Linked DNA regions of Homo sapiens: all the other regions are linked to region 1. Evidence: promoter capture Hi-C in 16 types of primary human blood cells and fetal thymus (Javierre and others, 2016). All regions are on one chromosome and are shown on one strand. Each heading gives the region's core, a stretch centred on a gene start or on the middle of the fragment in contact. The rest is flanking DNA. Distances are from core to core; before and after follow the strand shown.

The links. Contacts are between HindIII fragments. The CHiCAGO score rates a contact against its expected background, and 5 or more counts as called.
Region 2: a contact is called between the fragment with the promoter of ILDR2 here and the fragment with the promoter of CD247 in region 1, in 10 of 17 cell types (activated CD4 T cells, fetal thymus, total B cells and 7 more). The highest score is 11.3, in activated CD4 T cells.
Region 3: a fragment that was not itself captured here is called in contact with the fragment with the promoter of CD247 in region 1 in 1 of 17 cell types (total B cells); the score reaches 5.3 in total B cells.
Region 4: a contact is called between a fragment that was not itself captured here and the fragment with the promoter of CD247 in region 1, in 1 of 17 cell types (total B cells). The highest score is 5.9, in total B cells.
Region 5: a fragment that was not itself captured here is called in contact with the fragment with the promoter of CD247 in region 1 in 1 of 17 cell types (fetal thymus); the score reaches 5.2 in fetal thymus.
Region 6: a contact is called between a fragment that was not itself captured here and the fragment with the promoter of CD247 in region 1, in 1 of 17 cell types (fetal thymus). The highest score is 5.5, in fetal thymus.

What each region holds. Positions count from the first base shown.
Region 1 is chr1:167,515,480-167,520,099 of GRCh38, forward strand. It overlaps CD247 (CD247 molecule), which reads right to left and starts at 3,050. Exons shown (of 8, transcript NM_198053.3): 1 at 2,929-3,050. The coding sequence starts at 2,986. It also overlaps the pseudogene AKR1D1P1. RefSeq lists enhancers at 1,447-2,410, 1,682-2,881. The HindIII fragment of the contact is 3,961 bases long and covers 648-4,608 here.
Region 2 is chr1:166,973,148-166,977,539 of GRCh38, forward strand. It overlaps ILDR2 (immunoglobulin like domain containing receptor 2), which reads right to left and starts at 2,393. Exons shown (of 10, transcript NM_199351.3): 1 at 2,076-2,393. The coding sequence starts at 2,121. It also overlaps a transcript of MAEL not described here. RefSeq lists silencers at 2,243-2,292, 2,353-2,642, 2,763-2,812. The HindIII fragment of the contact is 7,595 bases long and covers 913-4,392 here.
Region 3 is chr1:166,925,974-166,930,066 of GRCh38, forward strand. It overlaps ILDR2 (immunoglobulin like domain containing receptor 2), which reads right to left. Exons shown (of 10, transcript NM_199351.3): 7 at 1,094-1,207. It overlaps LOC124904449 (a long non-coding RNA gene), which reads left to right and starts at 1,198. Exons shown (of 3, transcript XR_007066714.1): 1 at 1,198-1,634. The HindIII fragment of the contact is 675 bases long and covers 1,685-2,359 here.
Region 4 is chr1:166,902,177-166,906,483 of GRCh38, forward strand. It overlaps a transcript of ILDR2 not described here. Among named protein-coding and RNA genes, the nearest start is that of TADA1, 28 kb to the left of the region's middle. RefSeq lists an enhancer at 1-320. The HindIII fragment of the contact is 2,490 bases long and covers 457-2,946 here.
Region 5 is chr1:166,860,497-166,865,088 of GRCh38, forward strand. It overlaps TADA1 (transcriptional adaptor 1), which reads right to left. Exons shown (of 8, transcript NM_053053.4): 4 at 3,328-3,425; 5 at 1,707-1,916. Among named protein-coding and RNA genes, the nearest start is that of TADA1, 13 kb to the right of the region's middle. The HindIII fragment of the contact is 2,149 bases long and covers 1,204-3,352 here.
Region 6 is chr1:166,884,403-166,889,017 of GRCh38, forward strand. No RefSeq gene overlaps it. Among named protein-coding and RNA genes, the nearest start is that of TADA1, 10 kb to the left of the region's middle. RefSeq lists an enhancer at 1-313. The HindIII fragment of the contact is 5,404 bases long and covers 1-4,256 here.

The DNA.
Region 1 (4,620 bases), core at 1,800-4,299:
CAATCCCCCTGCCCCCTATTTGTGGAAATGGGGCACAGCCCCCATCTTGCATATATTTTTTCAGACATGTTTTTACTTCGGGAGAATATTCCCCTACAGAGTAAGTATCTTTAAAAAATGAAAATGGTGGATGTAACAGTCATCCTATGACCAGCCAGAGCTTTGCTGCTTTTTCACTATCGGGCCTACCTCTGCAATCATTGTTATGTTTCTGTGCTGGTATGGGTGTGCCCAGAAATCAGAAGAGGGATGAGTTGGATTGCAACAGATGGAGAAAATGCCCACTGCTGCTTTATAACATATTGAAAGCAAATGAAGAATCCCAGCCATGGGTTTCCATCTCCTGTTTTGAGAACAAGAAGACAGTCCGAGATGTAATAATAGTAATAGTAAATACAATGTTTACTTATTGGCTGTCTACTATGTATTGGACACATTACATTACTTCTCATTGTCACATCTCTGCAAAGAAGGTATTACAAGTCTTTCTTTAGAGGTGAGAAAACTGAGGCCCAGAGAGGTTAAGTAACTTGCCTAAGGTTGCACAGCTAGGAAGCGGCAGCACTGGGACACCACCTGAAATTAGCCTGGCTCTTTCTACCACGTCCAGCCACCTTCCTAAAAGCAGAGCCACTCACAAGCCTGGAAGCTTTGCATTCCCCAAGGCTGCATGTCAGAGCTCCATCTCCTCACTGATAAAAGACAAACACCACACTGACCGCTGGGTGCATTCTTGGCTACTGCAGAGTAGGGAGTTAGAGGCACTGAGGGCTCTGCAGGCACAAGTGTGCCCATGCCACTAGGCACGCCATCTTAGGATCTTCTGGCCTCAAGCCCTGGTGACTGTCTTGGTAGATTCTCTCTCAGGGAGGCCTCCTCATGTGGACAGACCAGGTCATCATTTGCTTTGATCCTAATAATCTGGGCATTTCCAAAGAAATGCAAATGCAACAGCTTAGTAAAAAGTAGACATTTTAAAAGGGATGTATGCAATGGGTCACTTAACTGAGCAAGAAAAGAGAGAAGACCTGACTGAAATTCTATGTGCGGCCTTTCCTCCGGGGAGACTGTGGAGGTGTCCCCTCAGGCAGCAAAAGCACCATCGCAGCCCTCGGTGTCAAGGCCTCTCTGAGTCGCGCTTTGCCTTACCGTACCTCGTTTCTGGGCTAGGATATTTTGAAACACTTTTGTCTATTAGCTTTATCTAAAATAGCTAAAATATCAGTCTCCATAGAGGCAAAGTAAGTGGCACTGAGAAGCAAAAAATCCAGCCAATGTGCAGTTTTCTCCTCCTGCCCCCTATTTGTGGAAATGAGGCACGGCCCCCATCTTGTCTGCTGGGTGGGGTTCTGTTTACCACGCTTGGCAGCCACCGCCACCCAACAATCTTTCATTTTTCTTTCTAACTTCACTTTGCCCCTACCTTGGTCTCTCCAAGCCGAACACAAATGGACCAGTGAGGAAACTGCAGGTAAAGACCCTGAAAGGTTATATGAGCTCCCTGGTGTGGTGTCTCAAGCCTGAAGCTCAGAGGCTGGAGCTATTGCCCCTGGCTGTCTCCCCTGAAGTCACTAAATTCCAGCGTTCTGGGTCCCCTTGTCCCCAGCACACAAGGATGGGCTGCTCTGAGCAAGCTCAGGCACCCTCACTCTGCCACACTGTGTGTGTGACTTAGACCCCACAAGGCTTTTCTGAGAAAACAGCTGTGACCTGACAGAAACCCCTGCAGCTGCACGGGCCTCAGAATCCCCCGAGGCGCTGGCCCGGGCTGTGCCTGGCTCCCTGGTGGGAGCAGAAGTGCCCATGGCCTCTCCTGCCCTCCCAACAGGGCCCCTAAACAAATTCCCACACCCAGGTGAGTTACCAGGAGCGATCAGGTGGGCCGAGGACATTTGCTTGCTTCACCTTCCCTGTTTCTTTAGATTGAAATTCAGCCTGCCCCACTTCTCAGGAAGATGCCACGAGGCTGATCCCCCTGAGCAGTTTGTCCTGTCCTCTTTTCACTGGTTTTCTTCCTCATTACCTGGGCTAGAAAACATGGTGGAAGCTAAAGGCTTGCAGCAAAGCTGGGCTCCCACGATCGGGAATGAGGTGAGGAGCAAGCACTCTTGTTGGCTGGGCGCTGCTCGTGGTGGTGACTTAACCAGGCACATCGTCTCATCTGCCCCGTGTTCTGTCAATGCCGGGCCCTCTGGCTGGGCTAGATGGCCGCCTAAGGGGCAGGCTGGGGTGAGTCACGGAGCCTGGGATGGTGCGTCACCCGGCAGTCCCAGGCGTGGGTGTGGGGACAGCCATGACAAGGCTGAGCCTAGACACGGACGCTTGGCCATGAGGTGGCGAAGGCGCTGTGGAGGCTGCCACCCGGTGCTTCCTGCCTGTGCCCCTCTCCTCCTTGGTTACCCCACTTACTCCCGGGCCCATTGGAGTGTTTCAGGCCATGACCTTGACTGACCAACAAAATCTTCTTTGTTGGCAAAGGAAGAAAGAAAGGGGCTGAGTGACGGAGCCAGCCAGAGGGTGAAAGAAGCTGAAGGGACTAGAACGTCGCAGCACGAAACATGGCCTGGCTGACATTTTCCGATCCTGTCCAGCTTCTGTGAAACACTCCCTCTCCGTTTCTCTACCCTGGGCCTGCCTCGGTTGCTCTCTTGCTTCCTTCTTCCTTCCTCTCTTATCACTCGAAAAATCTGTACCTGGAGGAGCTGTGTATTCTAGCAGCTGGCTCTGAACTGATGCCCAACTCGGCTGTGACGGAGCAGATGCCAGCACCGGGCCGGACCCCTCACTGCTCACTTGCCCATTGATTTGAGGAGGGCAGGATTTGAAGGAGACCCCAGCCCCTCACCACCCTCCACTACCCACACCCACTCCCCTACACATACACAAAGAGTTTCTAGAAGTTCCCTGCCGTCGACACGTCGGCCCTACCTGTAATCGGCAACTGTGCCTGCAGGATGGCCGCGGTGAAAAGCGCCTTCCACTTCATCTTGTCCTTTCCCTCAGAAAGAGGCTGGGAGGCAGAGGCTGAGGCAGCGGTGGCCGGGACGGTTAGGAGAAAAGGAGTCTCTGCTGGTTTTATTCTGCAGCTACCTCCCCAGGAAGTGGAGGACTGTGGGGCCTTTGAGAAAGCACCTGCCGACAGGGCCAAGAAATTCGCACTCCCCCTTTCGGTTCACAGGCAGGAAGCCCTGGAGGTTTGAGGGTTTGGGGTGTGTGTATGTATCTGTCTGTCTGAATTTTGCTTTTTCTCTCATTTGACCATTGTTTTAATGCTCCTTTTTTTAAAAAAAATAATTCTTATCTAATTCCTATCTTGATTGGTAAAGTCCATCTCTAGGCAAATACAAGTTCTCGATGGATGTAAGAACATTTGCTGTTTTCCTAGACTGTCAAATATTTTATGGTGGCTGGCAAAATGACAGAACCCTGGATTAGAGTCCAGGACAAATGTAGAGACAGATTCCTTGGGCTTTAGTGACATCTCTGCCTACCACCTACTTGCTGTGTGGCGTTGAGTCAGTCACTCAACATCTCTAGACTTCAGCTTCCTTATCTATAAAGCAAAGAGCTGGAGTAGATCTGAGGTTGCAGATCTGAACTTGGCCTGAATTTGGATCATTGTGTGAAATACTGTAGCTCACATAGTATTTTAAACACTTGTGTTAGTTGTCAACATTTAAACACCAGAGTAATTTACAATAATAAAACATTAAAACCTAGACATAAACTTCGTCTAAAAATTGTAATATATCTATATGAAACAAACTTTAAAACATTGCTGAAGAACGCCGAAAGGACTTGGGTAAATGGAAAGGCATACCCTTCTTTGATAGGAAGCTCTCTTTTAAGGAGACCACCATTCTCTCTTAATTAATCAATCTATTTCATTGAAAATACCAACAAAAAGTTTTAGAACAAGTTAAGCTGATTCCAAAATTGATATGAAAAAAATTAATGTACAAGAATAGCCAATAATCCAAAGTCACAGCAATCCAACATAAAATTGATAAATTGGACTTCATCACAATTAAAAGTTTTTGTGCATCAAAGGACACTATGAAGAAAGTGAGTCCTGCAAATCACCGCATACCTCTAAGTGATGGAAACAGCATTCCCATCATCAGACTTGGTACCTACTCAGAGCCTAAATTGACCCCTAAGGGGGCCGATGACTTACTCAAGGCCACACAGCAAGTAGGTGGTAGGTAGAGATGTCACTACAGCCCAAGTAGTCTGTCTCTACATTTAGTCTGAGTCTTCATCAGTGAAGGTTGTCATTGGTCTGGGGTGCTGACACACTGATGAAGCCTACATATACCAAAATGAAGACACAGCTGGGGAGGCCATCAGGGGGAAAATAGCAGAAGGAAAGGTGCAGAGGAAGGATATCTTCTACTGTGGAAAACTGTGGGCTACAAATCACAACCCAGAGCTGGTCTGCCCGAGCCTAGAGAGGATGCTCAAGGTCCTCCAGCTAGATTGTGTGGATCTTTACATCACTGAAATACCCATGGCCGCTAAGCCAGAAGACAAAATCTACCCTATAGGTGAGAATGGCAAATGGTTATATCACAAGTCAAATCTGTGTGCCACTTGGGAGACTTCGGAAGCTTGTAAAGA
Region 2 (4,392 bases), core at 1,143-3,642, 540 kb before region 1:
CCATCTGACAGCTGAGCTGGTCCTGATAACTAACCTGTTGCCTGATTCCAAGCAGAACAGCCTCTCCAGGTGCAGGTGGCAGAAGGCACAGACAAAGCCATCACCTCCCTCAAAACAAAAATAAAACAAAAAGCCCTCCAGCAAAAAGCCCAGAGAGGCAGCTTAGGAGAGGGCAAATGAGACTGGTCTGGAGTTTGAGAGAACTGGAATCTAGTCCCTAATCAATCATGAACGTGCTATGTGCATATTGCCTCTCTAGGACTCCATCTCTATAAACTGAGAGGGCTGAACTACAGTTCCTGTAGTACCCTCCAGTGATATGATTCCATTTCATAAAAAGCTGTGAGCCATCTAAAGAGAGCTCTATGTTTCCCTTCTTCTCTCACTCCCTGCAAACCCCCAGAGTACTTCTTTTAGGCAGACCCCAGCGTGTCTGTAAAGAGCACCTCTGACTCAGGGACCCCTCCCCCCCCCCCCCGATGCCTGGCTGACTTCAGTGCTGTTGTGATACAGGCTCAAGGACTAAGTGCCCTGAGAATATTGATAACCGAGAGTAGAGGCAGATTAAGGATGTGAAGAATCAGTGAGGGTGGGAGTGGAAGGCACTGGGAGGCCAGGGGAGCGGGGTGGCATGGATCAGCCAAACCCTGAAATTAGAGATGATTCATATCTGAATAATGTGGGAGGGATGAACTCAAAGCAGCCAAAAGAAGAGGCTAACTCTGCTGAGGATGCCTCCCCCAGCCTAAACCCAGCAGTGGGGCAACGGCAATGTTAGGGGCATTTCATTTGAAATGGGAAAAATATTTAGGCAATGAAGAATCTTATTCTGAAGCTAAGGGAAATGGGGTATTTGCCTTTTCTTGCTAAATGTATTTTACCCCCTTTACATGACTTGTTTTAGCTATTTTAAGCTTGTTCCCCTTTGCCTAGTGCCTTGATTTTGTCCAGATCTTCTGGCTGGTGATGCTAGAGGTGACAAAACTTCTCATGTGGTACTATTGTCCCTTTTCTCTCCTGCCTTCCACCCCCATCCTGTCCTCACCTTTCTGATCCCTTTTTCCATTTCTTCCATCATTCTGCCTCCACCTTGATTTGAATGGTTGCCTCTGACCCAGTCCAAGCTATCCAGACATTCCTCACCCCCATCCTACTCCCTTCAGCAGGGCTGCTTTGTGAATCTCTCAGGGCTGGCCACCCCAAGGCCCTGTATCCCTATGGGAATCGGAATCCTCATGTGGGGAAATAGGTTAAGAACAAGAGCATCTACTGACCCCAGCAGAATGGGGAGAAAGTTCACCAAAAAGGAGGGGAGGGCACAGAGGACCCAGCTAGACCAGTGACTTTGATGCTGGGGAGAAGCCCAATGCCTCTAAATCTCTCTGCAAATTATCTTTTAGGGAGCGGAGAGTGCACCTATTAGAAAGGCTCTTCTGCTTTCTAATTATCATTTGGGACCACTCCCCAAATGATACCAAGTAAGAGAGAGCCAGGCTCTAAACTCCACAACCAGTGAAGGTTCCATCCCCATCTTCTTCCCAACCTCCAGTTCCTTGCACCCTCCAGAGAGCCACAGAGAGAATGCCCTGGGTCCCCCTCCTTCTCTAGGGAAGAAATTAAGGAGACAGTCCTCTAGCCTCCACCTCCAGAAAACCAGTTCATTTAATTAATCAGCTCCCTCTGAGCTTCCTTTATTCCAGCCAGGCTTTTCACAAGACTCACAGCATTACAAACTCAGGATAAGACCGAAGGAGAACCGTTTTATGGAGGGGAAATGCATTCGAAAGAACAACCTCAGCGCCAATGAGTCAAACACCTGCATCTAGATGCGTCTCACTTGTCATTGGGCTTCTCCCCCGCCGCCCCCATCATTCTCTCTCTCTCTCTCTCACACACACACACACAAACACATACACAAACACACACGTTGCCCCCTCCCCCACTTTCCACCAGACCGCTAAGCAGCTTTAAACATGGTCAGTAAGGAGGAAAATGGGGGGGCGGGGGGCGCGGTGAGAACAGAACCACTACAGGAATATACAAAGTTATTCGTTTCTGTTGAAAAGGACTCTTACCTGTTAGCCAGAAGAGAGAAATCCACCTCAGCAAGACCCTATCCATCTTCCCCAACTTCCCAGCCGAATTACGGAGTGAGGAAAGTGGGAAATGGCTGGAACAGAAGGATCGCTGTCACCCCGCGGCAGCGGGCGGCGGCGGAGCGGCGGGCACCGGGCGTCCCTGGGCGCAGCGCCCGCCGGGCCGGCCGCGCAGGCGGGGCCGGGGGCTGGATCGCGCCGCCGGCTGAGCGCGCGCTGCCGCGGGCTTCCGGGGTCCGCGCAGCGCTCGGCGGCGCATCCGCATGCCCAGGCAGCGCGGCACGGGGCGAGCGTCTCCCCGCCGCAGAGCCCGCCGCGCGGGGGAGCTCGGCCGCCGCACCGCCTCCCGCGCCTCCGCCCCGCCGCCCGCTGCCGCGACTGCCAAAGTTTCTCGGTCACGTGCTGGCCCCCGGCGGCCCAAAGGTCAGCGTGGAGTGATTGAGGCCACGCGGAGAGAGGGGGTCTCTGGGTGGCAGGCAGCGAGAGGCGCGGGGGAGGCCGCCCCGCGGGCCGCGCCGAGCGGGGAGCGACCATCGCGGCTTCTCCCAGGGACGCCCGCGCTCGGGAACCCGGGCGAGAACGCTGGCTGGGGACTCGAGCAGGGGAGCCTGTGTCTGCGGGCAGCCACAGCCAACCTGAACGGGGAGAGAGTGACAGCGGCGAGGGTGGGGGACGGCGGGGACTTGGCGTAACTTCTTACAGGACTTAACTAGCAAGTCCTCTAGGCTAGAATGTTCGCTTCTGCGGTACCCCCGCCCCTCCGTCTGGTTTCCTTTTTGACAGTGCAAGGAACCAGGCAAGAGGCTCCGCAGAATTGAAAAAGGTAGGCGGGAATCTCGCGTCATTACTTTTTCCTGTTAAAATATGAGGTAGAATAAGGGCATCCGGCCCTTTAACAGAAAATATGTAAAACCAGAATGAGATAAATGATTATAACGGCTTAAATCCATCCAACACTTTATAGATTCCAGCACGCATTCACATGGATTATTCCTATTTGTCAGACGGATTTGTCTTGTGTCTCAAAATGTATGTGTTGAGAGAGAACTGAGAAATGTATGATTTGCTTAAGAAATATATTTATGAAGCCTCTACTAGGTGCTAAGAACTAAGGTTACAAAGTGGAATGAGATAGACTTCCTGCCCTTAGGAGCCTCATCTTGGGTCGAGGAAAGGGAGGAAGGTCAGACCATTAAAGACATGATACTTATTCCTAGTAAAACGGGGCAAGTGCAATAATGGAGACATAGAGAAAGTGCCTTGGGAACATAGAGGAAGGACTAAGTTAGTCGTGGGTGGGGAGGGGGCACCACGATAAAGGAGGGGTAACATCTGAGCTGGCATTTGCAGAAAGCACAAGATTTGAGCCATTCAAGGATCCCTGGTGGAAAGGGGGCAGGCGAGGGCATTCTGGGCAGAGGAAAGAGACATAGCAGAAAGGTCTCAAGTAGCATCTGAAAACAGAGTGGTGCCAGGCTGGAGGGGAGTTCCTGGAGCAGACAGACTCCACACCTAAGAGTGAATGTGTACACAGACAGGGAGAATATGTATGTGAACATGTGAGAAATGGGAAGAATAGACCCTGGGCAGCTGTCTTTTATGGCTGCCTGACATCTCAATTCCCTTCTTATTCTGAGAAATTCCAACTGCAGAAGCCAGAAAGTCTAGAGCCACCTCCCTGACCATCCCAGCTGGAATGCAGGCCCGGGCCCCTGGCATAGCCAGGCTGACCTCTCCCTCAGAGCTTTTTGATTCTGGAGCAAGTGGTGGATATAAGAAACAAGGACAGTGGAGAATTGATTTTGTCACTGAGGCAGCAGCAGCATCCAGTGTACATGATCAGCTGTGGCAGAGGTCAAGCCACCAGGATGCTCCAAGGTGTGATTTTTGGCTGTGGTCTTGCAGGCTCTCTGGGTTCTAGCCTCTCTTCTACACTTGGCTCTTCACTTCCCCAGCAATTCTTTGAGCCACCCAATATCCTTTCATAAACTCTTTCTTTGCTTATTTTGGCCAGGATGATTTTTTCATGCTATGTACTGCATGAGAGAAATTTGAGGACTATTTCCTTTCATATACAGAAAAATAAAAATATAGGAGGTACCTAACACTTGTGGGTTTCCTTTAGGTTCTAGGCAGAGTTCTACATGTTTAACAAACCTTCTCATTTAACCCTAAAGAGGGAACTTAGGCCCAGAGCATTTAACTAACTTCTCTAAGATCAGGCAACTAGTAAGTGGCAGAGCTAGGATTTGAATCTGACTCTAAAGCATATACTGTTTGCACCACAAAAAGAACA
Region 3 (4,093 bases), core at 772-3,271, 590 kb before region 1:
TTGTCAAGTGCAGTGACATCTGCATTCCTGACATTCCAATCTGGAAATGGTCTTTTTATAGTCGGTGTGGTGGGAGGATACAGCAATGGATACAACGCAGACAGGATGAATTTAGAATTGCAAACTGGGTGGAATATGTTGTCCTTAATCTGAATAAAGCTCTTCTAGTCTGGGACTGTTTCCCCAACAATTCCGTCAAGTCTCTCGTTAGTTCCAAGAAGAGGAGGGTAAAGAGACAGCATAATGACCTCACTTCCACACCCGCCAGCACCCTCTGATAATGAGCCTGTCCATGTGGGACCTGCCCTATGTTACCTCCCATGATACATAAGTTGGAATCCACCCCAAGAATCAGCTGTGTCAGCTGCAGAGTATCCAAGGGCTGGGGGTGAGTTAAGGGTTGGGGCCCGGCCACCTCAGACTTAGTATTCAAAAAGTTCTTTTGACAAGAGGATCAGCCTCTTTGCTTGCCCCTTAATCTCTGTTGTTTGGCATCTTCGAGGAGCAACAACCTTTTTTCCAGATTCACGTGCCAGACTTGTTCTTTCACTTTCAGGAGGCCTCCATGCAGCGAGTTGGTGGTTGTATTATCCAAGGCTAGCACCCTTCACGTTGGAAAAAACTGATACTTAAGCTTCCACATCTTAAGACATTACTTTGAATATATTTTAAAGGGAGTAGAAGGGAAAGACTATTTGGAATGCTTTATTAAAATAGTCTTTCCCTTCTACTCCTTTTAAAATATATTCAAAGAAAGTTGGTTCTTTATTCAAAGAAAGTTTGAATAAAATATATTCAAAGAATGTTGGTTCTATCCATGGGGCATGGATAACACAGCCCCAGAAATACTGACTGCCCCATGGAGAAAACCAACATAAACCAAGATGCTACCGAATTGCTCTACTCTTCACACCAGAAGACCTTTTTTTCCCCTCTGTGTACTGAGAGCTACTTTCTTCAGTAGTGTCACCAGCACCCCTGCTAATTCTAAGCCTGCAAGCTCAGGGCTGCCCAAGTTTGGTGACCCCCAAATCCCCTTTACACACTAACTCCTGCATAATGCACAGATCACAGAAAACTAACAGATGCTCACATCTGCCTCTCATCCTTCTGGCTGGATCAAACTGAGCCAGCTCCTTCTCAACATAGTACAGGACCTTCATGGAGTCTCTCTCTTTGTCAGCCTGGATCCGGTAACCTTTGCGAACTGTTGAGAAAAGCACAAGAAGGTGAGCTGAAAAAGGAAAATATCAGGAGAAGGAGGCCTCCATTTATTTTACCAAGTAGAAAATAGGGTTTCCAATTATAACAACTCTTTTTGAAATCACCCAGAAATAACGATCTATATTTATACATATGGGACCATATCTGTGATCCCCTTTATCAGATGGCGCCACTGGAATGGAGGACCTAAAGGTCAACAACAAAATTCCATTACAGTCTATTTTTAGTCATTTGTTAACTTCTGCTTCCTATCTTTTGACCTCTTACAGCTCCACTTAGTGCTCATCTTCTCAGCGCTTTTGCGTTCCATTGGAGGAGCATATTCACACTAAAAAAAGACCACTTTCTAGATTGAGGACATGCGTCACTCTAGCATCTGAGGATCCCACCTTCACTTTGTGAGAGCACAGGTAACTTACAGATACTCAAACATCAAGGGCCTTGACAAAGTTGGCCTGAAAGCTTTGAGTTGCCTAGGAGATAATGCAAAAGTTCCTTAAACTGAGTTGTGTATAAGAGCTAATATTAATTTCTAGACCATATACATAGTAGTACAAAACAAAATTCAAACTATGTGGATTTTTAATTATGGTTCCATTTCATTTCTTTAGCATTTTCCTTTTAGGAGAAGGAATACTGTGTTTTAGACATGATTAATTTGACCTGCTGCGATGTGGTTACAAGCAGCTGTTATTTTCAGGGCTTAATAAAAAACAAAACTAAAGCAGGAGAGAGAACATCTCCTACATCTCTATCACTCATATTGTCAGAGACAAAGGCTGTTTAAGCCCCATATCACTTAAGTATCAGTCTAGCCCAATACCAGCCCCAAGAGTGATAGATACCAGTGGGCCTAATTTACAGATAAGAGAAAGAGGAAAAAACGAAAGAGAGAAGGGAATGATGGGATGGGTACTGAAAAATAATGGTAATTAGTCAGTACTTACTGGGCACTGAAAATGTGCTAGGTACTGTGCTAAATGCTTTACATGGACATTTGTTCCTCAGAACCACCTAAAACAGTACTGTTATCAGCCACATTTTATGTTTGAGAAAATTTTGGGTCAGAGGGGTTTCATAACTTGCCCAGGAAAAATTTAGCAGTGCCAGGGCTGGAACCATGTAGTCTGATGGAAGCTTAACCATATTTGGGCATCTTGCCTCTCTAGAGTCTAAGAAGAGAGGTAGTGAGAAGAGACAGGTGAGAAAAACAAGGAAGGAAAGCCCAGAGTAAGAACTGCTTTAGCTATGCCATGGGTTGTATGGTCTGCACAGCATGGTCCTATATTCCAGCTATTAAGGACTTTTCAATGGGATGTAAGCTAGTGACCTAACTCCAGCATTCCCTGTTCCCAAAGTGGGGCAAACACCATAAAGAAACCATATGACTGCATGTAAATTCAGAGAAAACCCTGCTGTATAGTGTCTGGCCATGTTACCCTGGCTGCGGACAAAACCCTCCCACGCAAGCTATTTACATGGAAGATTAAAATATAAAATTCCATAGCACTCTAATTGTAGTCCAAGCACTAAAAACAGAAGTCACCCACACACCCATTTGCAGGTGCACCGATTTTCTATATGAGAATATACTGGGCAGTCCACATTCATCTCAAATTGTGGAATTACTTAGAAAAAAAATTAATGAATCTCAGCACACACTTTTTAGTGGCACTTTCTCCCAGAGGTTAGATCCATAATCCTTGTGTGGAAGCAATGATTAGCAGAAATAATTTTATTTATCAAGCTAAACATTCTTCCATCTCTACAAAGGCATTTACTGAGTCGTACAGACAGTTCAATTAAAATGCAATTATCCCACAGAACTGCTATGTCTGTTCTGGAGGCAGTTATGTCTGATGGATGAGACTCCAGCCTGGGAAGTGGGGAACTGGGCATTGTGTAGGCATGCAGTGCTATTTATTGAGGGACCTCAAAGAAATGGTGACCTATGTAGGACTCAGTTTTCATGTCTATAAAATGCAATGAATACTTGCCAACCTTTAAATAATCTCTTAAAGATGAGAGGACAACTAAGACCAAATCAGTGGAGCACTTTGAGTTCTCTATCATTATCAGGAGCTGCTCAAATGCTGCCTCAGCCAAAGGGCTTTCTTTGATTCTCATAGCTTGAAAAGTTCTGTCTCTCTCTCTAACTTACAAATCATTCAGTTTGAATTTTATTATGGCCCTTAATATATTCTAGTTTGTTTCAAGTTATCTGTATAAATGTCTAATCTTCTCAAAGATTCTTGAAGGAAAAGAATCCTTATGGTTCTGGATCTCCATGTGCCTAAAACCATGCTTTACACATAGTGGGGAACTTAAAAAATGTTCGTTGCATTGCTGTCAGCCTGGGAATTGGGGCAGGGTTAATGGTTTCTTTGAGAAGTGCATTTTCAGTAGAGTTTTCCCCTCTAGACTGCAAACTTCCTGAGAGCAAGGACTAGGTTCGCTTCTGTATCCCCAGCACCTAGCATAGAGCCTGGCACATTGTAGACATTTGAAATATGTGTGTTTGTAATGAATGAAGGAATGAGTGAATGAATGAGGAGAAACTGGGAATAGAAACCATATTATAAGAGACTACAACATATAGCAGATGAGGCCATATGGGCGGTTTATTGGAGAATTTTGATCAGGAAGGGAAAGGCTTGGATCGTAGAAAAGTCTGGGTATCATGATTATTATTATTATTAATTTTTTTAAGGAAAACTAGCATGTCTGTATGCATTATGAAAAGGGCCTACCCTACCTGGAGCTGTGGTTTTATCTAGGTGTTCTAATTTCTGAAGCACTGTTATGGTAAACATTCAGTGATACTGCACTAGAGGTCATGGGGGAGGGGGCCCATAAAGTTGTTGCTATA
Region 4 (4,307 bases), core at 452-2,951, 610 kb before region 1:
AGATGCAAAAGTCTCTCTTTTTCTGTGAGATCCTGGACCTCCTCTGTCTGCCAAGGCTGCACATGTCTCTCTCCCCACTTTACAGATTAGGAAGAAGAAATAAAAAGCTAAAGTGCATAACATAAACTCTGAATCAACCCTTCTTCCTGTCCTTCCCAACAGAACCTGAATTTGCCTGGGTGTCATATACTGCCCTCTATGCAACAGCTATGACTCAGAGAGCAGTAACTCCAGGCCTATTCCTTATTCATCTAAGCCAATCAGAGGGCAGTAACTCCAAGCCTATTCCTTATTCATCTAAGCCAATCAGAACATGACAAGCTAAGTCAGAAAGTTCAGGCTACAAAGACTTGTATTATATAATTAGAGAAATGACTTCTCTCTTCCTTGTTGGAGGTGAGTGAGGAAACACATTGTCTCAGTCACCGACCACAAGAGGAACCAGCATTAGAATGAAGCTTAAACTTGAATGGCAAAGAGTAGAGTTAAAAAGATATTGGCAACATATTTAAACTTTTGGAACAACCAATTATTGTAGCCCATTCTACATTTTGTAGGCTAATAAATGTCCTTATTGTTTTTGCCAGTTTATGTCAAGTTTTCTGAGTTTTGTTTGTTTTGCAGTCAAAGCATCCTATCCTACCCTGCACTTCAGTTTTGTCCACCTCAAGAAATTCCACTGCTGTTTCATTAGTTATTCAAGTCAAAGACCTAGGAATCATTTTTTTTTCCTTTTCCTTCACTGTCTCCAAAATTGAATAAATCAACAAGCCTATTTTCTCTACCTCCAAAATACATTCATAATCTATCCTGTATATCCTTCTCCACTGCCATCGTCTTATTCCATTGTCCCCCACACAAAATCTGCATTCGCCCTCCAACTGTTCTCACTTCTTCCACTCTCGTCTTCCTGTAATCTGTTCTCCATACAGAAGTCAGAATGGTCTTTTTCAAACATAGGCCACATCATTCATCTGTTTGAAACTTTCTAATGGTTTCCAACTTAGAAAAAAGTCCACATTTCTCATTGATTTAATTACAGTAAAGACTATATCACTATAATAAAGACCTCAAAATGCAGTGGCTTAAATAAGAGAGAAGTGTATTTCTCTTTCACTTAGTCCAGCCAGGCAGGCCAGTTCTCCATGAGGTCATTTGGGAGCCAGGTTCCTCCCATCTTGTTGCTCCACCATGCCTAAGGCTAGTACATTGTCCTTATTTGCATGGTTGGTCACTCAAGGGAAGGAAGTTAAAGGCAAGTAATTTCCCTTCAGTCAAGTAAGGTGGGTGTTGCACGTATCTCTTCTGTTCACATTGCTCTGGTGATAACTCTAGTCACATGGCCACAACTCACAATAAGGAAGGCTGGGAAATTTAGTCTCTGGTTAGCTATCCAGATAAGAACCTTTTTCTAAGGACAAAAAAGAGAAGAGATTTGGGGAGGGTGCCTAGCACTCTGGCATCTTTATAATGGCCTTCTCAGCCTAAATGATCTAGGTGATGTTGGGGGCCCCTGCAGCCTCTTCAACATCAGCTCCTATGTCCTTCCTTGTTCACTAATTTTGAACCATGATGGCTTCCCTTCTGTTCCTCAAACATTCTGAAATCATGCCTACCTCAAGCACTGTTCACTTGTTCTCCCTTTCCTTGGAACTCTGCCCGATGGTCCTCTCAATCTCAGTTTCTTCTTATCCTTCAAGTAACAGTTTGAAAATGTCCCATCCTTTGAGAGGCCTTCTCTGACCACCCTTCTAATATTTTCCTCCTCTTAACAGTCAATGTCCATGATCCTGAGTTATTTTCAACACTGATCCTTTTATGAAATCATTTGAGTATTTGTGTATTGGCTGTCTCCCTCGCTGGAATTTGAACTCCATAAGGGTAGGGGGCCTTATTTGTCTTAATCTTATTCACTGCTGTAAGCTCAGTGCCAAACCATTGTATAGACATAATTAGTGCCCAACAAATACTTTTTAAAATAACTTGAATAAAAGGATAAGACTCTCCTAAGCAATATCTCCCCATCTTGTCCTTGTGCAATTATCTCTCAGATCAAAATGTGAGATTTTGCATTTATCCCTTCTCATTTCATCTTGTTAGATCTGGCCCATTGCCCTCATCTATAGATCTCTCTTGGGTGTGACTCTGAACCTGCCCCCTGCCAGTGGATCTGCAGGCCCTTCTTACCACTGCATGTTAGTAGGCAGGCAGCCACATGGCTTGCACTGTATCAATTGACACTCAAGGTTCCACACTTCTTTAATCTACACTTCTTGTTCATTGCACCCCCTTTTCATATGAGCTTCTACAATCTCCATAGTTGTTTACAAAGCAAGAACTGAGTGTCATGGGGAATAATGAACAAGGATTCAGGAGATCTGGATGCTAGCTCCAATTCCACTGCTGTTTGTTGCTATTTTCTAAGTCACCTTGAGAAGTCATTCCCCTCTTTGTGGTCTTGACTATTGGATCTGTAAAACAGAGAAAATCATGCCTGTTTTGCTTTACTCAGAGGCTCAGATAACAATGTACATAAATACACTGTGGAACAATTAAAAATTCTGTTGGAGTAGAGGGTAGTATTCCAGGACAGCCAGGGCCAGATCACAGGAGTCAGAGAGAGTCTGTGCAACATGGGGAGATTGTGGGGGCCCAGACGCCGTTCTCTGGAGCACATCTTCCAAAACCCCACTTCACTGTACACAGTAGGGCATCTTGTATTTTCCTCCCCTGGTTTTCATGCCAAGCATGGAGACACCTCCTCAAAAAAACTGCAAAAGAAAAAATCCCTTTGTGCTAGGTAACAAGATAAAGGTCTTACTCAGAAAGGAGACTTTTAAATATTGTTATAACCAGTTTAACCTATGGCCCTATATTGCACATTCTAAAGTCTCTCAAAAATCCCAAAGGGGATTGTATTCATAATAAAAGTTTAAAAACTTTAAAAGCTTCTTTTTATCTCTCTCTCAAAATCTCGTATAAATACTGGTTATACTCAAAATCTATTTTTTTTCCTCTCCAAACTCTGCTAGCCCATTCTGGCCATGATCTCTTTCATCCTCTTCTCTCCCACGGTCAGCTGGCTCCATGTAAATCAATTGAGCCAAGCCAGGTTCCACTGGATTCTTTCCTTGTGAACCCATTAAATCATTTAATACCACAAAATTGCAGAAGCTGAGCCAGCTGTTCAGCATTTGGTATGCACTGAAGGAGAAAGAGTTTGAGGAGTGCTCATAACATTTAAATTTTCTGCCTATCACACTGATTTGTTACCTTTTAGACTAAATGAAACTGAGGCTAAGATATGGTGGAGAGGGAGCAGACCCAGGGTCTACCAGAGATTAAGTAGCTTTCTCTAGTAGTTCAGTGGTTTACCCTTCCCTCTACCTCGACAGGATGTTTTCCAGGCCCCTCTGAGATGTCCAACCCTGATGTCTCTAACTTATACACATAGCTTATACTTTTTTATGGTTCTCTAGAGCCTGGGAATAGTAATTGTATGTGCTGATAAAAACACATACAAACAGCTTTTGGACTGGTTGCCTCCTTCATGTCCCAGCCACAGCATCATTTAGAACCTCTATAGCTACAAATAAATCATCAGTTGGAGTGAGCAGCCAAGGTTGGAAACTGATAGAGGGCCTCTGGTGTTTCTAATTCCAAAATCTGTGGCCATACTCTATCTCAGAATCTCTTTTGCCCACGGCTTATAAGTGAAAACAATCCTCATCGCTTGCCTTCCTCACTCCTCCAGGTTTTTATGTGAAAGGAATCAGTTTTTTGGCAAGTCCCTTTGAAAAGTTTTCCAACCTCTGTTCTAGGGTATGACTAAGCTGAAAGTCTTAAAGTGACTGAGATCATTTGTACTGGCTGAGATGTGACCTGGATGTAAAAGTGTTTGCGCTTATTCAACCTGCATGGGAGTGACTGCTCCGCAGCCTTCCTGAGGTCAGAGCTCTCAGGATATCATAAAATGATCTCATTTTGGTTTAGTTAAGCTCACACTACAAGACCTACTGCATGCCACATACCACAGTGGTATGAAGGATACCAAGAAAAAGAATACTTTCAAAGAACTTGCATTCCAGTGGGCAACCAGACACAAAAATAGATCATTTTGTGTTTATGCATTGAACATGGTGACAGGGCGAACACTGCAGAGGAAGCATGGACCTGGGGCTCTTAGCTCAGCCTGGTGGGAGTGGGGCTTCCTAAAAGATGCAACATCCAAGCTGAATCTTAAAATGTATGTAAGAAAGTGCTCAGAGAGGGGAAGGAAGGTATTCTGGAATAAAGGAACAGAGGTA
Region 5 (4,592 bases), core at 1,028-3,527, 660 kb before region 1:
CCACACCAAAGGAGTAGGAGGGTATGGGAAAGAGGGGGACATGCTTATTTTCATGTATTAATAGTTCTCTTTAAGAGGGGCTTGCTATACATGAAATTTGAAAAGTCTTTACATCTCTAAATTGGCTCCTCTCTCTCAAAAATGAGTTTTAGATGGCTTTAAAAGAAGTACACAAAAATGACTTTTTTTTTTAGATGGATTCTTGCTCTATTGCCCAGGCTGGAGTGCAATAGCACGATCTCAGCTCACTGCAACCTCTGTCTCCAAGGTTCAAGCAATTCTCCTGCCTCAGCCTCCCAAGTAGTTGGGATTACAGGTGCCCACCACCAAGCCTGGCTAATTTTTTATTTTTAGTAGAGGCAAGGTTTCACCATGTTGGCCAGGCTGGTCTCGAACTTCTGACCTCAGGTGACCCGCCCATCTCAGCCTCCCAAAGTGCTGGGATTACAGGCATGAGCAAAAATGACTTTTTAAAAAGAGACAAACTATGCTGAAACTTTGTTTAAAATAGGACAAAAAGTTTTAAGATCTGATATTATTGGAACCAAAATCCTTGCGTGAAAAGAACCTTGGCTCTCTCAAAAGCCACATAAACAACAGATATATAGGAAATAAGCACAAAATAAATTAGGTACTTGATTTCTCTTCACTTTCATGAGAGCCAAGTATATAAGAAAAGGTTGAGGAAGCCTGTGAAAATAGAGTGACAGAACTCGTCCCAGGCTACCATTATTAATAGGGGAGCCAGCATCAGGCAGGGTGTTTCAATTATACCAAGGAAAATCCACTTATATCAAGACATTATTGTACTATTTAAATTGGTTTGCACGCAGAATTCATTTAATGTTTATAACTTCATGGGACAACTGTTATTATTTTTGAAGTACAGATGAAGAAAATAGGGCTCAGAGAATTGAAAATCCAATGTCACCTGACCATACTCGTGCATTATAGACCCCATCAAATTAGTTTTGTCAAGTAACTAAATGAATAAAATGAATGGACAAATGAAATCATGAGCAGAGACAAGAATTCTGCTGTTCAGATGCCAAGACTAATACTCTTCAGTGCTGTATCACAGCAAAAACAAGTGACTTTAATCTATAGGATTCTCAATTTCATTTCTTTCCTTAAAAACCATTCCCCTGTTGACAAAACATCAGATCAACCAGAAGAGTTATGCCATAAATAACCTTTCTGAAAAGCTTAGTCTATTAACTGAAGACAACTATTTGGATTATAATGAGTTTCTCCTCTTAAAAGAAAACAACTTTTAGCCAGGTGCTATGGCTCACACATGTAAATCCCAGCACCTTGGGAGGCCAAGGCGGGAAGATCACTTGAGCCCATGAATTCGAGACCAGTTAGGCAAGAGAGAGAGACCCCCATCCCTAAAAAATTTTTTTTTTTTAAATTAGCTGAGTATGGTGGCGCACGTCTATACTCCCAGCTCTTGAGAGGCTGAGGCAGGAGGATCGCTTGAGCCCAGGATTTCCAGGTTGCAGTGAGCCATGATCGTGCCACTGCACTCCAGCCTGGGAGACAAAGTGATGCTGTCTCAAAAAAAACAGAAAACAACTTCAACAATGACAATTCTGTGAAATCAGAGTGACATTTGGATTCTTTTCTTGCAATACCGACTTTAAACAACACACAAGCCTATCACATTCAACCTGTAAGATTATTTCTGCCAACAGCAAACCAACCTCCACAGCATAGACAACAGCTGAAACAGCCTCCTCGGTGACATTGTCCAGCCCATGCTCATAAGCAGTCACTATCATTCTCCCTTCAAGCTGGCCTCGAGTGGGAAGCATCATTGTGTGGGAACAAAGTTTCAAGTCGTCATCATCTTGGGGATCCTTTGCCACAAATTGCTGGGCTCCTGAGAGAGGATTTTGAGGCTGGAATCTATGCTATGAGTAAGAAAAACTTTTTAAAATTACTCATTACAGTAGCAAACAAGACACAAAGTAAACTCCTGTACTGAAGTTGAGATCCTCCAAATTAATGCCACCAAAACTATACCACAGGGGTTAAGGGAAAAAAGAGTTAATTCATGCACAAATAATCACAGATTCACATCCAATACAAGGTAATAATGAAGACATGGATTAAGGGGAATAATGGTAGTTTGCGTAGTAGTTTATTCTATTCAATTAATACCTTGGTGATCACAGAATGTATGGCACTGTGTTAAAAATAACTGAAAGAGAAGGAGAAGTATTGAACTATATTCAAACAAATCAGAGCATTTTAAATCTAACCGTAAGTAGGTTCTAAAAGTATAAACATATAATGAATGATTCAATTAAATCTTAAAAAGCCTAGCTAACCAATATGGCAGATCTAGTAACAAATATTCCAAGATAATGCTATGTAGAGTAACTACTTAATTGCTGTTATTTTCTACTTAGAATTCTCAACACAGAACCTAAGATACAGTCATGACTATTTTTCTCAGTCTTTTTCATTCATAAAATCTCAGCCTTCCTCAGGGAGATTCTGATAGCCCATTCATGTTCTCCATCACCACCTGGAGTTATGCCCCAGTACCTTTTGCTTAAGGCTAATATAAAAGATTTTGTAGTGAAGATGGTTTGTCCCTGTTTGAAATTGATATTATGAAAACAACATGGTTATTTTTCCATTTTCCAAGTATAAAACTACTTTATATTGAACATCTCTTTTTAAATCAGACATGTCTCTCTAGAGATCCCAATGGCCTCTACATTCTTACTGATATAAAGCATATAGTCAAGGTGAAAATAAATAATTGTTTATTGATGTTAATCAATAAAGCTATCAATACCCCATAAACCTATAAAAGGGTTACTTCGGGGAAGTTTTTTTCCCTAAATATACACTGAAAAAAGCAATTTGTTTTAAAATGCTTACAAATTTTATAGCCAAATGCCTTCATGACATCTCTACTAGTCCTCAAAAGGCTCAGGGCCCAGCTGGACATCACCAGGACCCCATTAAAGGCCTCCAGGCTGCCTGAGCCCTTGAGACAGATGTCTTCATCCAAGAAACATTATTCATTCAAGAAAAATACTTAACAGGAGAGACAAAAGCATTGTTTTGAATAACTGAAAAATCATTAGGTACTAATGATAACATTACTATTTAAGCAGTAACAAACAAGAACTATAAAAATTCAGACACCTAGAACTCACAATCCTTGAAACGCTTTTCTTCCCAAATCATACTCCTTTTTTTCAACTCTACTACCAGTATTTTAATATTCATTTAAAAACTAAAGCTAGTCCCAACATGCCACTACTTCAATCAGTCATTATCAAGACCTATTAAAGAACAACCTACATCAAATTTCTGACGAACAGAAGAAAGCTTTTTCTTTCCCTTGGGTTTTCCAGGTTTTGCTGCGGAACCCCCTGGCCAAGGCAAAGATCCAGCACCATCTAGGAGACAGAAATATATAACCATAAGTAAAAATAATGACAACTGATAACTGCTAAGTTTGTTTTCATTTGGGGTAAAAAGCATGGAATGCTCATGAAATGCAAATAACTAATGAATGCTTAAATCAAAACCTTCTCTTTCTACTTCTCTAAATAAAATTATCGATCCTCTCAAATCACATTTTTTTCCTAGCTGCAACTAAAATTTTTTTAGGAAGACAAATTTTTTTATATTTTCAATTAATGTTTATTGGGTGTTTTGTTTATTAGCAGTAGTATTATTATAGATGTAGGACAGAATTTGCTGGTCTAAGATGATGAACTGAGCACATGTATTTATCTCCTCTCCCAAGACGCTACAAAATATGAAAGTAAGGAAGGTAAATGGCACACTTGCACAACAGAGGTTAAAAAGGAAAATGAGTGGCAGACACGATGAGATGTCAACAAATTTCTAGGATGGACTAAAAGGGTGCAGACTCGTGAAGCAGACCCATAGAAGCTGTAACCTAGGCTAGGCAAGGAAGGTGGCAAGTGAGGCAGAAGCACGTCAACCTGCCTGGAAGAAACCCACAACCTGGATTGGGAGAATGTGAGTGAGTGGAAACCAGGAGGGATCTGTAAGGCTAAAAACAAAATTAATGGAATGTCTATATCCTTAAATCATCCACACAAACCCATTCACTCACCCCCAAAACTGGGTTCAGTACAAAATCAAAGTGCTGGGCCTCGTGTTTAAAAATTAAGAATTTCAAGATAATGATGGTACAAACCAAGTGCAGGGCCCTTCTGTGCAATGCAGGTCACAGGCCCAGGAAGGCTCATTCCCATGCACAGAATGACACAGAGCAGGGTATTTATAATAGCTAAGTCAGGGGGTTAGAAGGAAGGTGGGGAGGGAATAAGGACTCTTCTCTAGTTAAACCGAACACAATTTCTGGGATTTACTAAGGTAGCTGGTATGGATGTTGGTACCCTACAGCAAAGCTCTCTGTATATGGGAATTTGGGAGACCCCCAGTTTAACAGTAGGCTTCCTGTCAGCTTACTCTAAAGCAAAGTCTCCAGGCAGTTTTATGCTTCATTCTTAAACATGAAAAGGACAATAATTAATCACCAGATATTTGACAATATTCTTTCACATGACAAGAAAGAGCAAGCTAAAAAA
Region 6 (4,615 bases), core at 305-2,804, 630 kb before region 1:
CCGCTTGCCTTCGCTAGAGGAAGAAGAGACGGCCCTGAGCGCAGCATCACCTCGGCCGGTTGGAGTCTGCCCGGCTGCCGCCAGGGGGTGATGCGCCCTCACCTTTCCTCCAGGATGCCCGGGATCCCAAGGAGGGTCGTGGGTCTCCGCGTCCCAACCTGGAGCCTTGGCCCGGGATGATACCCTTGGCCACCGGCAGCAGGTCTCTGGTGGCCACCTGACGCTTGAGCATTTCTTCTGCGGACCCTGGGAAGTCCTACCCCTTGGACTCATAAAATATCTTGGTTGTCCAAAGGTGCCACTTTCAGACCCTCCAATAACGGCAGGGATAGACTCAAAATCATTGACATATTACAGGCAGGGTTGTTACCTACAGGAAGAAATTGACGAATTGTCACATTTGGGGACAACCTGGGAGCTGCGGACCAAAGGGGCCTGACAGCAGTTGAGTGTAAAGGCAGGGCATACAGAGGCCACCTGTAGAGTTTACCCTCTCCCCCACCCTACCACCCACCTTGGGTCCTGAGTGAGGAAGAGAGTAGAGTGCAACCCATTGTGAGCTCTTTCTCATCAGGCTCTAGGAAATAACAACAGCTGATATGTACGAACTCCCTGCTACGAAGTGGGTCTACTACATTACCTCCTTTAGCCCAAACCATAATCCAGTGAGGTTTGAATTGCTGCTATCCCCAGGCCATAAGTGAGGGAACTGAGACTCAGGAAAGTTCAGTTGCTCTAGGTTACACAGGAAGTGGCAGAGTTAAGACTGGAACCTAGATCTCACTGACACCAGAGTCCATTTTGCCACAATAACCACAAAAATATGTTAACTCCAGTGAGCACTTAATATCTGCCAAGCATTGTACTGAATATGTTTTTTGGCGATGATTTAAAATCCTTGCCACAACCCCCCACAAGGTAGGTACTACTATTGTTACTCCCATTTTACAGGGAGATAAACTAAATCATAGAGAGTTAAGAAAATTGCCCACAGTTACACATCTAGTAGAACTGGACATAAGCCCAGTAAGCCCCATTCCAGAACTCATACTCTAGCTACCATGTTCTACTGCTTACTCTAGTGTGAGTGCCCCTGTCCATTTCTTCCTAAAGATTTCATCTGAGACAAGCTGGAATGGTCTGAAAACTCCCTGATGCCCTCCAACCAATGTAGCTGATGCCATCCTTTCAACCATCCACATTCTACTACACCTCCCTGCAGCTCCATGATTTCTGCACACTGTGGGGATGGAGCTCACGCATGCCCTGCACCCACATTTTGAGAGACTCCCCCTCTACAGGCTGCACTGTCCTCACTAGATGCACATCAGATAGGTAAGAGATTTAGGCAGAATAATCTTTTTTGTTTTCTTTTTCTTCCTCTCCCTCCTTCCCCTCCTCCTCCTTCTCCTCTTGATCTGTCACCTGGTTAATTTTATTTTTTATAGAGATGGATTTTTTTTTTGGAGACAGGATCTTGCTCTGTTGCCCAGCCTGGAGTACAATGGCACAATCATGGCTCACTGCAGCCCTCGATCTCCTGGGCTCAAGTGATCCTCTCACCTCAGCCTCCCAAGCCGCTGGGACTACAGGTGTGTACCACCATGCCCAGTTCTTTTTTTTTCTTTTGTAGAGATGAGGGGACTTTCTGTGTTGCCCAGGGTAGTCTTGAACTGCTAGGCTCAAGCAGTTGGCCAATCTCAGCCTCCTAAAGCGCTGGGATTACAGGTGTAAGCCACTGTACCCAGTCCTGTCTTTTTTAATTACAAATATATGACACCTGAGTTTATTGCTTTCCCCAAGTTACCAATTGTTTTGTAGAGTACAAACCTAGAAAATAGTATCTGAATGGTTGACCCCAGTTCAAGAAGATGAGGCAGGTCTCACCCACATGAAACTAGGACTACTGCAATTTCCATATGTTATTTAAAATGGACTTTGTGGAACTGTACCTTTATGGTAGATCCTAACCCAGCTGGCTTTGCTCTGTTTCCTAGTAGGATTTGCGGGGCTTGCAACTTCAAACAAAAAATTCCAGAAGTGTGCCCTTTGCTACTTCTGCATTATTAGAATCTGTTGGAAGCCTGTGATGTTCCATTTGCCTGTGAAGAGGGTGACAGCTGGTGTAAACCAGGGTCATGAAATTTGGCTGCTTCCATGGCAGTGATTTCAACCTGAGGGATGACTACCCAATACAAAATAGTAATGGCGGTCACTGCTAGATATAACGGACTCCTGGGTAGCCTCAAACCTCAAAGTACTTGTATTGCTTTAGGCCTGCATGGCAGGTTTTTGCAGAATGCCAATAATAGGAGCCTCAACCTTTTCCACTATATGCAGAAAAGAGGACAATGGAAAGAAGGAACTGTCTGTGTATGTTCTAATGCCAAGCAGAGCCAGCTTCTCAACAGATAATAATGATGTTAGGAGACATTTATGAAACACTTAACATGTCCACACAAATTAATGTCTAGTCTATTCCAACAATTTCCATGTTAGGTAGGGGATACTGTGGAACCAACCAGGCCAGGGCAATGGAATCCATTCCATCTGGTTGCTATGGAGAGCCCAAGGGGGACTACAGAAAACATGCAGTGTCTGCCCATCATTTCTGGAGCCAGATATAACCAAAGGAGATTACTGGAATTTGCTTGCTTGAACAGATTATTTCTACTTAATTCACCCTACAATAGCTTTCATAAGAGCAATGGTTCTCAACTTCGGTGTTAGAATCACTTGGGAGAATTTTTAGAAATTCCATGCTCTGGCCGTTCCCCAGAACGATTAAACTAGAATGTCTGGGGAATGGAATCCAGGTATCACTATTTTTCAAAGCCCTCCAGAGATTCTAATGCGCAACCATTCCTCATAGTTTTCCCCCTAAACCTTATTTAATAAGCAATAGGGCACCTATGTGACAGGCTGATAGATGCAGGACACCTACCACATCAGCCAGGGCAGAGGACCCCTGTGGGCTGGGAACCCCAAACATTCCTGGAGAGCCTAAACATTAAGTACACTGAATTAAAGGAGGCAAATTCCAAGATGTTTGCTATGGCTCAAATCAGAAACCAATTTTACAGAATCATTTTATAAAAAGTTATAGATTCTTGTTGAGGGCATTCCAGGATGGAGATAAACTGGCCTCACTCACATGGAGGTGGTTGAGCCTGGGCCTTGTTCCCCAAAGCAGTCTCCTCTGGTAACCAGCTATGAGTTTCCCTTTGGCTATCCCGACGCTTTAAGAAAATTCACACCTGGCTAGGTGCCGTGGCTCACACCTGTAATCCCACCACTTTGGGAGGCCGAGGCAGGTGGATCACAAGGTCAAGAGTTCGAGACCAGCCTGACCAACATGGTGAAACCCCGTCTCTATTAAAAAAAAAAAAAAAAAAAAATTAGCCAGGCATGGTGGCGCATGCCTGCAATCCCAGCTACTCAGGAGGCTGAGTCAGGTGGATCGCTTGAACCAGGGAGGCAGAGGTTGCAGTGAGCAGAGATCACGCCACTGCACTCCAGCCTGGCCTGGGCGACAGAGTGAGACTCCACCTCAAAAAAAAAAAAAAAAAAAAAAAGAAAAGAAAAGAAAAAGAAAATTCACACCTAATATGTGACAATCTACTTTCAGTTGTGCGTAGGGAATTAGGGAAGAGCCTAAAGGTGAACAGATAAAAGAGAAGCAGTCACTTTGTTTAAGCCTACATGGTGGCTGGACACTGCAGGACAGGGTTGGCAGTGGCGTGAGCAGTGACCAGAGCCAGGCAGTGGCAGAAACACAGTGCTGTTACAGACTGGCCTAAACCCTGTGTGAACCCCTTCAGATGCCACGACTGCTGAAGTTCTCAGTGCCCCTGAAAGTGAGGCTGGAAGTTCTGCGTGCAGATGGAGGGGCAAAGAGACATTATTATTTGGACATAATGATGAATGCAACCTCAGCTGTACTCATTAAGGAAGTCACATTTGCCACATATTGGCAATAATCAAATAATTCAATCCCTAATCAAATTCCCCATTAAAACCAAGTTTCACTCCCAAATATATGTGTTTCTCTTGGGCTATAAGTGTTGGACAGAGGTCTTCATGGTTGCTGCAGGGAAGAAATGTATGAGTAGTCTCTCCAAACAACCAAGCAGCCTGGGGATCAGAGGTCCAGGACACTGGGCCGCATATGTGATGTGTGTTATATTGGATGCTAACATCTTTGAATGAAAGGCTGTTCCTATCTGGTGCAGTCATGAGCAGAAATGACCAAATAAAGCTTGTGCTTGTCTTAATCTATGTTATTTGTGAATTGTGAATTATTTTGTCTCTAGTCTCCCCAAACAGTGGGAAAAACCAAGGCACTAACTTCAATTTGGCAAGTAATAGTGTCATTTTGAAACATCTGTAACATACCTGTTTACCTTTTTCAAAATTTTCACTGACAAAATCACACTATCCCTCTAGTCATAATCTGAAGCACTGTGTCTCCATAGTGATGATTCAGGCTCCCGTTGCCATGGTGATCATTCTATGGGCTAAAACACTTCCATCAGTTCTTCCCCTCATTCTCATTACCATTGTCCGTTTCTCAATCCAGGCCCTTATTATGTCTTTGGGATCTAGCACTGGGCCT